Regions from separate parts of the Homo sapiens genome. Here regions 1 and 2 are each linked to region 3. Evidence: promoter capture Hi-C in human tissues and cell types (Jung and others, 2019). All regions are on one chromosome and are shown on one strand. Each heading gives the region's core, a stretch centred on a gene start or on the middle of the fragment in contact. The rest is flanking DNA. Distances are from core to core; before and after follow the strand shown.

Region 1 (3,205 bases), core at 262-2,761, 740 kb after region 3:
TAGAATAACATTATACCAACAAGTTCTTTTTAGAGTTCCAGTACACTTATAATAACCATAAAATAATAGGACCGTAGCAACCTTTTGTCCTACCTCAGTGACTTGATGCATACACTGGGAACAGCCCTCAGCCTGAGGAAGGTCAGTTGAAGTCCTTACTGTAAAAGTCCAAATTTTAAGGAAAATGAGTCCCGTGATGAGTTTTCTCATGCTTCGGCCGTGCGTGGACCAGTCAGCTTCCGGGTGTGACTGGAGCAGGGCTTGTCATCTTCTTCAGAGTCACTTTGCAGGGGTTGGCGAAGCTGCTCCCGTCCACGTACCGCTCACAGTCTACTGATGTTTAAGGATGGTCTCAGAGGTTGGTCCTGCTAGAGTCTAACTGAGTCTAACGCTTCTACACAGTTATGTTCAACTGGGCTCTCTGATACCGGGAGCAAGGTGGTGGGATTTAGGGTGTTGCAAACTTCAATGGTTATGTGGGGATTTTAAGCTTTGATACTTGGTTAATCTAGTATTTGTTAACCAATGATGTCCTTTGGTAGTCATTAAAGTTACCACAGCAAGGGGGCCTTTATATTCAGGTTTTGCCTAAGGGTTAGTTTATCTGCTTCTTGTGCTAACAGGGCTGTTGCTGCTAAGGCCCTTAGATCTGGGGGCTGGACTCTGGAAACCCTGTCTAGTTGTTTTGAGAGATAGGCCACTGGCCTTGGCCAGGGCCCCATAGTCTGGGTTAAAACTCCAACTGCCATTTTTTCTCTGACACATAGAGTTCAAAGAGTTTTGTCAGGTCAGGTAGCCCCAGGGCTGGGGCTGACATGAGTTTTTTTTAACTCATGAAAAGCTCATTGCTGTTGGTTGTAATAGATGTAGTTTATATAATCTACATTTTTATTAACTGTCACCTACTAAAATATTGACTCAAATCCTGCAGCTATTTGATTTCAAGCTTTAAATTGATCTGCTGTTCCTCGTGAGACTCCAATTGTGTCTAAATAGATATGAGAGTCGAAAGACCCATAGGAGGCTTCTCTCACTTTATGATGTCTTATTTTTTTTCCTTCTGGTTGATGAAATGCCAGGGTGAAAGGGATAGTCAACTGGACTAAAGTACAAGTGCCCCTCCAGTTATTCGGCAGAGTGCCCAGTAAAGGTCCACCACAATACCACCACACATCCACTCGGGGATGAACAAGGGCTGACTGATTGATAAGCTCTTGAAAATTCTTAAGCTCACTGCATCCCTTTAGGTCTCCAAGGAATGCTGTTTCCTCCCTGTCGTGAGAAACACGAAGTGAACTTAGTGTTGGGGGACGGAAGCTGGATGGCCCTTGGGGGCTGACCTGCAGGGTGCCTGACTTTGGGATATAGCAGAGAGAGCTTGGCATGACTTATTATTCCATGCTGTAGAATCCTGGAAAAGAGCTACCATGCAGCCCACACCTGGTCGACGGAGGACCACCTTAGTGGAAAGGGGACAGTCTGGGTCTCTGGCCTGCCATGTGCGCAAGCATAACAATTGCTTTTGTTTAACATGCAGATGGAATATTTGATCCATTTTAACCAGGCAGTTGCATCTTGGTATCCCGTCTTAATTGCTAAAGTTTGTTTTAAGTCTTTAACTGCTATGATCCTCTAGTAAAATGAATGTATGGTTTTAGGAAATTACAAAAACCGGTTGGGGCAGTCCATCCTTGTTCTGTAGTGGTCCACAGAACGTTGGTCCAACTATGACATGCAAGCTGCACATCAGGGGGCAAGACTCCTGGTTGGCACTGGGGTCTTTATCGAAATCTCCCGGGATTAAATGGTTCAGTTTACTAATTCCCAGTCTGAGGAGAGTCAGGAGGGACAGAAGTACTTTTCTGAAGAAGAAAGCTGTCTTTGACTTGGCAAGTCCCCACAGGGTATAACAAGGCAAGCATTAAATGCAATAGTTTGAGGCGAAATTGACTTGGTTATGTTAATAACTAGATGGTCAGCAATAGAACGAGGAAAGAAGAAAGAGTAATAGAATAGAGGAAAAGAGTTAAATTTTTCTTAGCTTTTGTTTGGTAGGGTTTTCCCCTGGGACTATGGCCCATGACTCTGGAGGAGGTGGCACTTTCTTGACTCGGGTGTGATGAGTCCATCCTTTTTTTTTTTTTTTTTTTTTTTTTCTGTACAAACAGCAGTCTTGGTGGTTAGCAGCACAAGGTGGGGTCCTTCCTAGGTTGGCTCGAGTTTTTCTTCTTTCCACCGTTTGATGAGAACGTGATCTTCAGGCTGGTGCTGGTTTACCAGAAATTCTAGGGGTGGTACATGTGCTAAAAGACTTTTAGTTTTTGAGAGAAAGGAAAGTGGAAGATAAACCAAGTATATAATTTTTAAGAAACTGACCTTTTGTTTTATATGTGGGGACCTTGGCAGTGGACTTTATAGTCCTTAGTGCCTTTTAACTGAGAAATTTCCTTTAGCATCTATTTTTATTAGTTTTTAAAACAAAGAAAGCCAAATACCATTTTACATTTAACAATGCTTCTCATATGATTTTTATACCAGATAAGCTAAATTTTATCTTTATATTAGTGTGTTAGTAATGTTAAACCTAATTTTAATAAAACCTTGTAGACATATTTATCTAATTTTTAATGTTTGACCATAAGGTAAGATTTTATAGACTCTTTTTAACCTTTTATAATTTTTGTGAAAGAGCAGGTTGGTGCTTTAAGAAAAACCTGTTATGCTTTTACTTTAATGTCCAGTTCACAGAAAAACTGGATGATACTTCTTTAACTTTAGCTAATATGTTTACACACAGAATTTTCTTTACAATTAACGTTTTAAAACTTGCTTAAATCTTCAAAACAATAATTTTTTAAAAACTTTTTAATGTAGGTAAAAATGTGCATTCTTATGCCTCCTTATAATCCTTTTACTAAAGGTATATTTTACTTTTCTGATACACCTTGCACATAAACTGTTTTTTTAAAATAGTTTTACATTCAGGAGGCCTAGTTACTTTTAAATTATACAACATTATTTGCATAAATTCTTTTTTATAACATTTTTCTCTTTCATGACTTTTGCAGACAATTCTTCGACATGCCTCAACTTTCTGACTTATTACAAATATTTCTTTCTTTAAACAACCAGTTAATTTATTTCAGGACAAGAATTTACCATATAATACTCTTTTTATATAAATTCTGCCCCCCCTTTTTTTCCC
Region 2 (3,534 bases), core at 948-3,447, 680 kb after region 3:
AGGTGCTTTAACATGTACAAATGTAGTTAAGCTAATATTCAACTTTTATTCCAGGAGACCTACCATTACAGTAAAACAAACTAATATTTCTATCTTGTCTTTTAGGAGCTTTTCCACCTTCCAAGGGCCATAAGGAAGCTGTTTCCAGGGAGATGACCCTCAGCAACTTGTGGATATTTCTCATACAGTCTTTTGCATTTTTGTCAGGCTATATGTGGTACAACATCATTCAGTATTTTTACCATTGCCTGTTTTAGGAATTGACGTGGACTTGTCAAGGTCACCGTAGGAGTTCAGACTTTCTTTCATAAGTGTGCATTATTTTACATGTGCAAATCAGAATATATTTAAAAAAAAGCAAAAGAAATTCAATGGATGGATTAATATTTATCCCCCTTTGGGATATTTTAAAATCTACTAAAATGAGGATTAGTAATATAATGACCTGCTAATATATTTTAAGAACATGTTTTAAAAAGATACACTCTATCACATATTTAAGCAAACATCACATTTGGAGAAGAGGAAATCATAAAATCATCCTAGAAGACTATCTGAGAGAAATTCTGTTGCCACCAGTTATACTTGACAATTTAGTTGAAGCTCAGAAAGTTATATTCATCCCTCTTAGCTGTAGTCTATATTAGGGCAGTTCTCTAGAACGCCCACATTTCCACCAACTCAGTAAACTTGAGGGGAGCTGGTTGGCACCTCGTGAAGAACTCTTTCCCTGTCGTTTGCAGTAACAAACTCCAGTCTGTTGCAGTAACAAACTCCAGTCTGTTGCAGTAACAAACTCTAGAATATTGACATTCTCTGTGGGGGAAAAGCAGTGTCCACTGGACCCCTTCTGGTACTGGATGTGTTCTTTACAAAGGCTAGCTCAGTCCAACACTGTGTTTACATACACTCGTGCTTTTCCTTATCTGACTTCTCATTTTGTATCAGAGGCATATCATAAATTGATAATTTTGCAAAATGCACTTTTTTGAGATGCAGATATAGCAAAGGATTAGTAATATAGCCTGAAAACAAATGGGAGCATAGCAGTGTGTGAGGTTCTCGAGAACTGTCTTGTCTCTGTGTGTTTATTTGCCTGCCAGTGCTCTCCAGCGCCATCCTGCCCTGGACACCACCCTGACGTGATGCCTCTATTGCAGCTCAGAGGCTTTATTTTTTCCATTTTGACATTGGCACTAAATGCATTTGGGGATGGTTAAAACAAATTACTATAGAACATTTAAATGATCAGTTTAAGGGGAAATAGGCTAGTTTATAGAAAAATAAGAGCTAGTGGCTTATAATGGTGACAGGTTCTCATGTGGCACCCCTAGGACCTGTGCAGACAGTAGTCTGTTGAATCATTACATCAAGGAGCTGCCCCTGTCAGGGTGAGTGTAATTAGGAACGATACCAGCACATAAGGCTCCCCCCAATCTCTTCCAGTTGCTTTTTCTTTTTTCTTTTTTTTTTAGACAGGTCTTACTCTGTCACCCAGGCTGTAGTGCAGTGGCATAATCTCAGCTCACTGCAGTCTCTGCCTCCCGGGTTCGAGCGATTCTCCTGCCTCAGCCTCCCGAGTAGCTGGGACTACAGGCACCCACCATCATGCTTGGCTAATTTTTGTATTTTTAGTAGAGATGGGGTTTCACCATGTTGGCCAGGCTGGCCTCGAACTCCTGACCTCAGGTGATCTGCCCACCTCGGCTTCCTAAAGTGCTGGGATTGCAGGCGTGAGCCACCACGCCCGGCCTCCAGTTGCTTTTGAAGAGGGTAAAGTCAAGTTTCTATTTCTAGAAAACATTTTTTAGAAATTTGTTGCGATGTTTGTACAATTTACCTCATAAGAGAACCACACCCTTCTCCAAAAGTGCTGGTACTGCATCAGTGAGATGAGTAGGGTTTTTGTTTGGGATTGTAAGACTATTAAGATCCTAGTAAGTCAGTGGTAGTTTACTGTGATGTGAGCATTGTAGATTCCCCCGTTGTCACTAATCACACAACAATTTTGAGAAGTAGGCTATAAAACAAAAAAAGGTTGCTGTTTTCTATTTTTAAATAAACCAAAAAAAAACAGAAAAGATGTGAATTTTCCCCAGTTATGTGGGAAAGGTAAAGCAACACCAAATAAAAGCCCACAGCAGCTTCATCTTTACGATAACTCAGTGCATATGTGAAAGAGAATGATGCATTAACTGAAATACCTCATTGAATATTATACTACTACTGGTAAAATGCAGAAGACAGTGTTAATGTGTTTGGTTTGGGGACTGGTTGTTATAAAATGCAATTTTTTTTTAAATCTAAGCATTTCATTATGTGTTCTACAGTGTCGGTGAATAAATGAAACCAATCTCAATTTAGAGGTATGGATGATGACAGAAAGCCCAATAGAAGCTTAATGATGCTTCTGTTTGAGGCCCAGCAAGCACCACTAAATTACTGGATGAAATGAAATTGTTCACTTGAGGGATTAGTCAACCATCTGGGGGAGAAGTTGCTCACTGTCAAATACAGCATGCACGGTCCTAGCTGATAGACCTTTTCCTCATTGCTACAGCAAGCCACAGGGTAGAGTGACCAGTTCTCCTATCCAAAAATAAATGCGAACATGCATACATAAATGTGGCTGAGGGCCACTTTTGCCATCACTGTGCTCCAAAGGAACATGATATTGTTAAATATACTGTACACATTAAACTATTCTATAAGATGCTTTACTTTTCAAGTACGGTGTCATTTTCACAGTCTCCAGGGTGACAAATGCCAATAGATATGTGAGTTAATTTTTTTAAATATCTCCGTGAGTTGTAAATAGATGTGTATTTGATCTGCCCTATCCTTCTTTGATTCTTTAACATGTTCTCTCTCTTCTGTTTGCAAAATATGTTTGAAAGCATTGGTAGTGCTTTCCTTATCAGTAACTGGAGTTCTCCTGCTTGCACTAGAGAAGGTAAAGAGAGAATCAGTATTCTTATATGGCAATCTGGGGAAGCAGCAATATGCCACTGTACAAAACTGAAGAAAAGTTCCTAATTTGTACTTTGTGAAGGGAGATGAAAGGACGTTTAAAGTATATATATTTTGTCAAGAGGAAAGAAGATAAAACTATGCCAGTTTTATATCAATAGCTTGTAGAAGCTCAGCTCTTCTTGGTCTTGGCTAGACTGCCTAGATTCCCACAGCAGACAAGGTTGAGAATCCATTGCTGGAATCTTGGTATTGATGAGTTACAGTGATGGAACATGTGCTTGGCCACAGGCAGGTCCAGTCACTGCAAAAGTGACCAAGCCAGCAGGTCACCCTTAACTTCAGAAACAATTATTGGTGGTGAACTGTACTTAAATTGCAGAGAAACCTGTAAGTAATGGAAGGTAAAGAAAAATTACAGAATGGAAAATAATATTTTGGGCAAGCAAACAAATTCACTGAGAATTCCAAAAGTATATTAAAAAAGAAGATAGCTATGAGTTCAGATCTATCTTATTGGTCTTTAATATTACAACCAATCCTTAACTTTCCACTATAAAGGAA
Region 3 (3,709 bases), core at 529-3,028:
GAAGATTCCAAGAACCCAGCATATAGTTCTACTCACAGCTGGGAAGGAAAAACACAGAGGGAGAATCTAGGGGAATCTATGTGCAGGTTTCCTATGCTCTCTCCCTCCCATGAGGAAGAGCACACTCTTCCCCCAGCAACAAAACTTGACAGTATGTGCCATTCTTCTGGCAGAACATTCCTCTGCTAGAGATGCCCATTAGACTCAGCACCCAAGGTTTTCACTGGGGGCTGGTCACATGGGGCACCCTCTGCCTAGCATATACAGTGTTCAATACTAACCACACCATCTGTATATACGGCCTAGGCAAGTGAGTCCACCGTTATTGGGTAGGGAAGGGTGAGAAATCCAGACACTAGACAAGTCCCACCCTTGCAAGTAGGCTTTTCTAAGGAGAGCAGGCCTGCCATGTTAATTCTTTTCTGCACGGATGCCTGGACTCTGAACCATCTGGTTCCCTCTGCTACCGGCAAAAAGGCATCCCTTAACATCCTCACATCCCAGCCATGTCTCCCTCCCTCGGTGTCCTCACTGACTCATGGTTCTAAATGGCCCCTTCACAAATGATGCCCAAACTGGCATCACTGACTAAGGGCCAGGTTTCTGATACCCCCATGCAATCCTAGTCCATATAAGGCCAATTAACTCAGGAATTAGCGAGACCAGGCCAGAGGGTTTTGAAAAACATCAGGCCTCTTCCTGCTCTACCACTAACAGGTGGCAGGCCTCAGTTTCCTTATGTGTAAAAGCAGGAGATGGGTTCCTGCCAGCTCTGAAATACTATGGTACTATGACCTCCCCCCAATGCCGTTCCCCCGCTCCACATCTAATATCAGCCCCCTGTTGGTCCTTGTCGTGCGGCTCCAGTCCCAACCAACCCAGGTGGGCAGGTGGTTGTGAGTTTTCTGGACGCCTCTAGACTATTGACGTGTGTGGGTGTGTGTGGGCGGGGGGGTCTCTATTGACGTGTGGCGGGGGGGTTGTGGGGGTCTCTAACCTCCAGTCCACCCTCTGCGCTCACTTCCAGCTTTGGCTGAGCCCCAGGGGTACATGACCTAAAAGTGGGTTTGAGGAGTCCGATGCAGAGGCCTGGGATACAGGGGCAGGAAAAGGAAGTGCAGGCAAAGACTGGCTTATCCCAGGACCTGTCTCAATTCCCACCTAACCCAGGGAGCAGGCTCTGCTTCCCTCCCTCCGTCCCCCGCCACTCCCCACTATGCGTGGGCACAGTAAACGCCTCGGCTGATGCTAACATGAAAACCAAAAAGTTCTGAGGTCTGTACGCAGATCATCAACGAAAAGGCGGCTAGAGGGGAAATCTCCCGGGGACCGAGGGAGAAGTTCAGGGTGGGGTGTGCGGGCAAAGCGGAGCGCTCCGACTGTTGAGGACTCGTCCTCACCCCTCGGCCATCCTTCGGGGCCTAGAGAGAGGAGGCCCCCCGCCGGCCCAGGGCGCCCGCCGCGGGCCGCGCGTCCCCCAGAGCTTCCTGGGCCGCCGGCGCCTCCTGGGTCCCCGCTCGGCTCGCCGCAGATCGGACGCCACCCCGGGTCCCTCGGCCCGCGACACCCCCGCCTACCTCCTCCCCGCCATAGCGGGCCAGCTCCTCCTCGGTGAAAAGCCGCACTGGGGGCCCCCGCTCGGCAGGGCGCGGTGTCTGCCCGGCCCGGGCTGTGGGCAGCCCCGGGGCCAGCGCCAGGACCAGGGCCAGCGCTGCCAGCGGCCGCAGCCGCCGCCGCGGCGCGGGGCCCACCATGGTGAGCGCGCAGCGCAAGGCAAGGCCGGGCCAGGGCGGCGGGGCCCTAGCACGCCCGCCCAGCGTCCCGGAGTCCCGCCCCGCGCCCAGAGCCTCCCCGAGGGCGGGGACCCGAGAACTCCCGCCCTTCGCGCGCCTCCTGCGCCCCGGGGTGGGGCTGGCCGGGCTACTCGGGCCACGCAGCTGGAACCTGGAAATTAGGATTGGAATCCTGAACTCCTAAATCCAAACTACAGACTGGAAGTTACCAAAAAATGTCACAGTGGTTCCTTGATCAGGTAGAAAGATGACAGAGCCCAACATACCAGAACCTAGAAAGGTATATTTCTAAAATAAGACCCCAACTGTCTTAATTCGCTTTTATTTTTGGCTGATTTTTTTTCTTCCTGGTTGTGTTTAAGTTTCTGGTTCCCAAGGAGATTTTTGCAAAGGGTAGGGTGCTGTTACCGATACGCCCTGAAATAATAATAGCTAACATTTGTGCCAAACTTTGCTCATTACTTTATGCAACAAATATTTTTGAGTACCTCCATGTACCAGGTCACTGGGGACTCACCACTGAACAAGACAGATCCACGCCCACGTGAAGCTTACATTGTGTGGGCAGATAGACAATAAGATGCTAAGTAGTATGTTAGATGGTGGTAAATACTAGGGAGAAAAAGTAGGGCAAAGAGATAGGGAGCACTGGGATGGACATTTTATTTTATTTTATTGTTATGTATTTATTTATTTTTGAGACGGAGTCTGTCGCCTACGCTGGAGTGCAGTGGCGCCATCTCGGCCCACTGCAACCTCCACCTTCCGGGTTCAAGTGATTCTCCTGCCTCAGCCACCAGAGTAGTTGGGATTACAGGCACCCACCACCACGCCTGGCTAATTTTTTTTTTTTTTAATTTTTAGTCGAGATGAGGTTTCACTATATGCTGGCCAGGCTGGTCTCGAACTCCTGGCCTCAAGTGAACCATCCACCTCATCCACCCAAAGTGCTGGGATTACAGGTGTGAGGAACGGTGCCCGGTTATGGGGATGGTCATTTTAAATAGGCAGGTTAGGGAAGGCCTCACTGAGAACAGGGTATTTGCATAAAAATCTACAGGAGGCGAAGGAGGCGGTCTAGAGGGAAGAGCACTTTGGTCAAAGGATCAGGTGCATAAATGCGGAGGAATGAGGATGCCCGGCTTGCTGGAGGATCAAGGGAAGGTAAGAGGGGTAGGTGAAGTCAGGAAGGAAGCGGGTAAGGGAGTGGGGGTGGATCTTGGGGGCTTCACAGGTTATTTTCAAGACTGGCTTTTACTTTCAAGACTGGAATAGAGGAATTAACAGAAAAAGGGTCTCATTCCAGACCCAAGAGCAGGTTCTTAGACGTCCACGGCAAAGAATCAGGGCAAGTCGCAGAGCATAGTAGTTAAAATAGTTCATTAGAAACTACTCCATTTCTAATAATAGTACTACTGTGTTTCTGAGTAGTATCCTTGCTTTGAAGTAGTACTAAGCAAGTATTGTTTATATAGGAGCACCTCTGCCTTCAATGTAATGCTTGCTTTTATAGGGCTAAAACTAGCGTACTTCATTACAAAAGCCTATGATCAGCTTGTTACAGACTATTAGTATTGTTATTCTCTTGTGTAACTATTGACTTCAGGGAGAATTTATGGGTGTACTGTTATCTTTAAAGTGAAACTCATTTTTAAACTAAGAATGCCTTTTTCCATTATCTCATTTCCTCAACCATAAACATCTTGTGAAGAGTGCCTATCTTCCTGGGAAAGTCGCCCAGCAGGTTTGGCTTTATCTGACCTTTATTCAAGATGGAATCACTCTGGTTAGGACACTTCTGACATAATTCCCTCCTCCTTTTTACAAGGAGACCTTTAATCCTAAGGGGTGCAGGGGGACAGAGATCCATCTTCAGTAACTTCAAGCTGAACAGAAGCGATGATATTCCTGCCTAA

What was found. The method cuts DNA at HindIII sites, captures the fragments that hold promoters and counts their contacts. A contact is called where the count stands out against the background at its distance.
Region 1: a contact is called between a fragment that was not itself captured here and the fragment with the promoter of NENF in region 3, in 2 of the 25 tissues and cell types used here (lymphoblastoid cells and spleen).
Region 2: a contact is called between a fragment that was not itself captured here and the fragment with the promoter of NENF in region 3, in 1 of the 25 tissues and cell types used here (hippocampus).

Annotation. Positions count from the first base shown.
Region 1 is chr1:211,689,045-211,692,249 of GRCh38, reverse strand. No RefSeq gene overlaps it. Among named protein-coding and RNA genes, the nearest start is that of NEK2-DT, 15 kb to the right of the region's middle. The HindIII fragment of the contact is 4,257 bases long and covers 1-3,205 here.
Region 2 is chr1:211,746,622-211,750,155 of GRCh38, reverse strand. LPGAT1 (lysophosphatidylglycerol acyltransferase 1) reads left to right here. Exons shown (of 8, transcript NM_014873.3): 8 at 106-3,534. The coding sequence ends at 257. Among named protein-coding and RNA genes, the nearest start is that of NEK2-DT, 73 kb to the right of the region's middle. The HindIII fragment of the contact is 4,126 bases long and covers 135-3,534 here.
Region 3 is chr1:212,430,989-212,434,697 of GRCh38, reverse strand. NENF (neudesin neurotrophic factor) reads right to left here and starts at 1,778. Exons shown (of 4, transcript NM_013349.5): 1 at 1,578-1,778. The coding sequence starts at 1,754. LOC105372906 (a long non-coding RNA gene) reads left to right here and starts at 1,881. Exons shown (of 3, transcript XR_922577.4): 1 at 1,881-2,073; 2 at 2,854-2,957. RefSeq lists an enhancer at 1,183-1,272, a silencer at 1,433-1,992 and a cis regulatory region at 3,416-3,703. The HindIII fragment of the contact is 24,294 bases long and covers 1-3,099 here.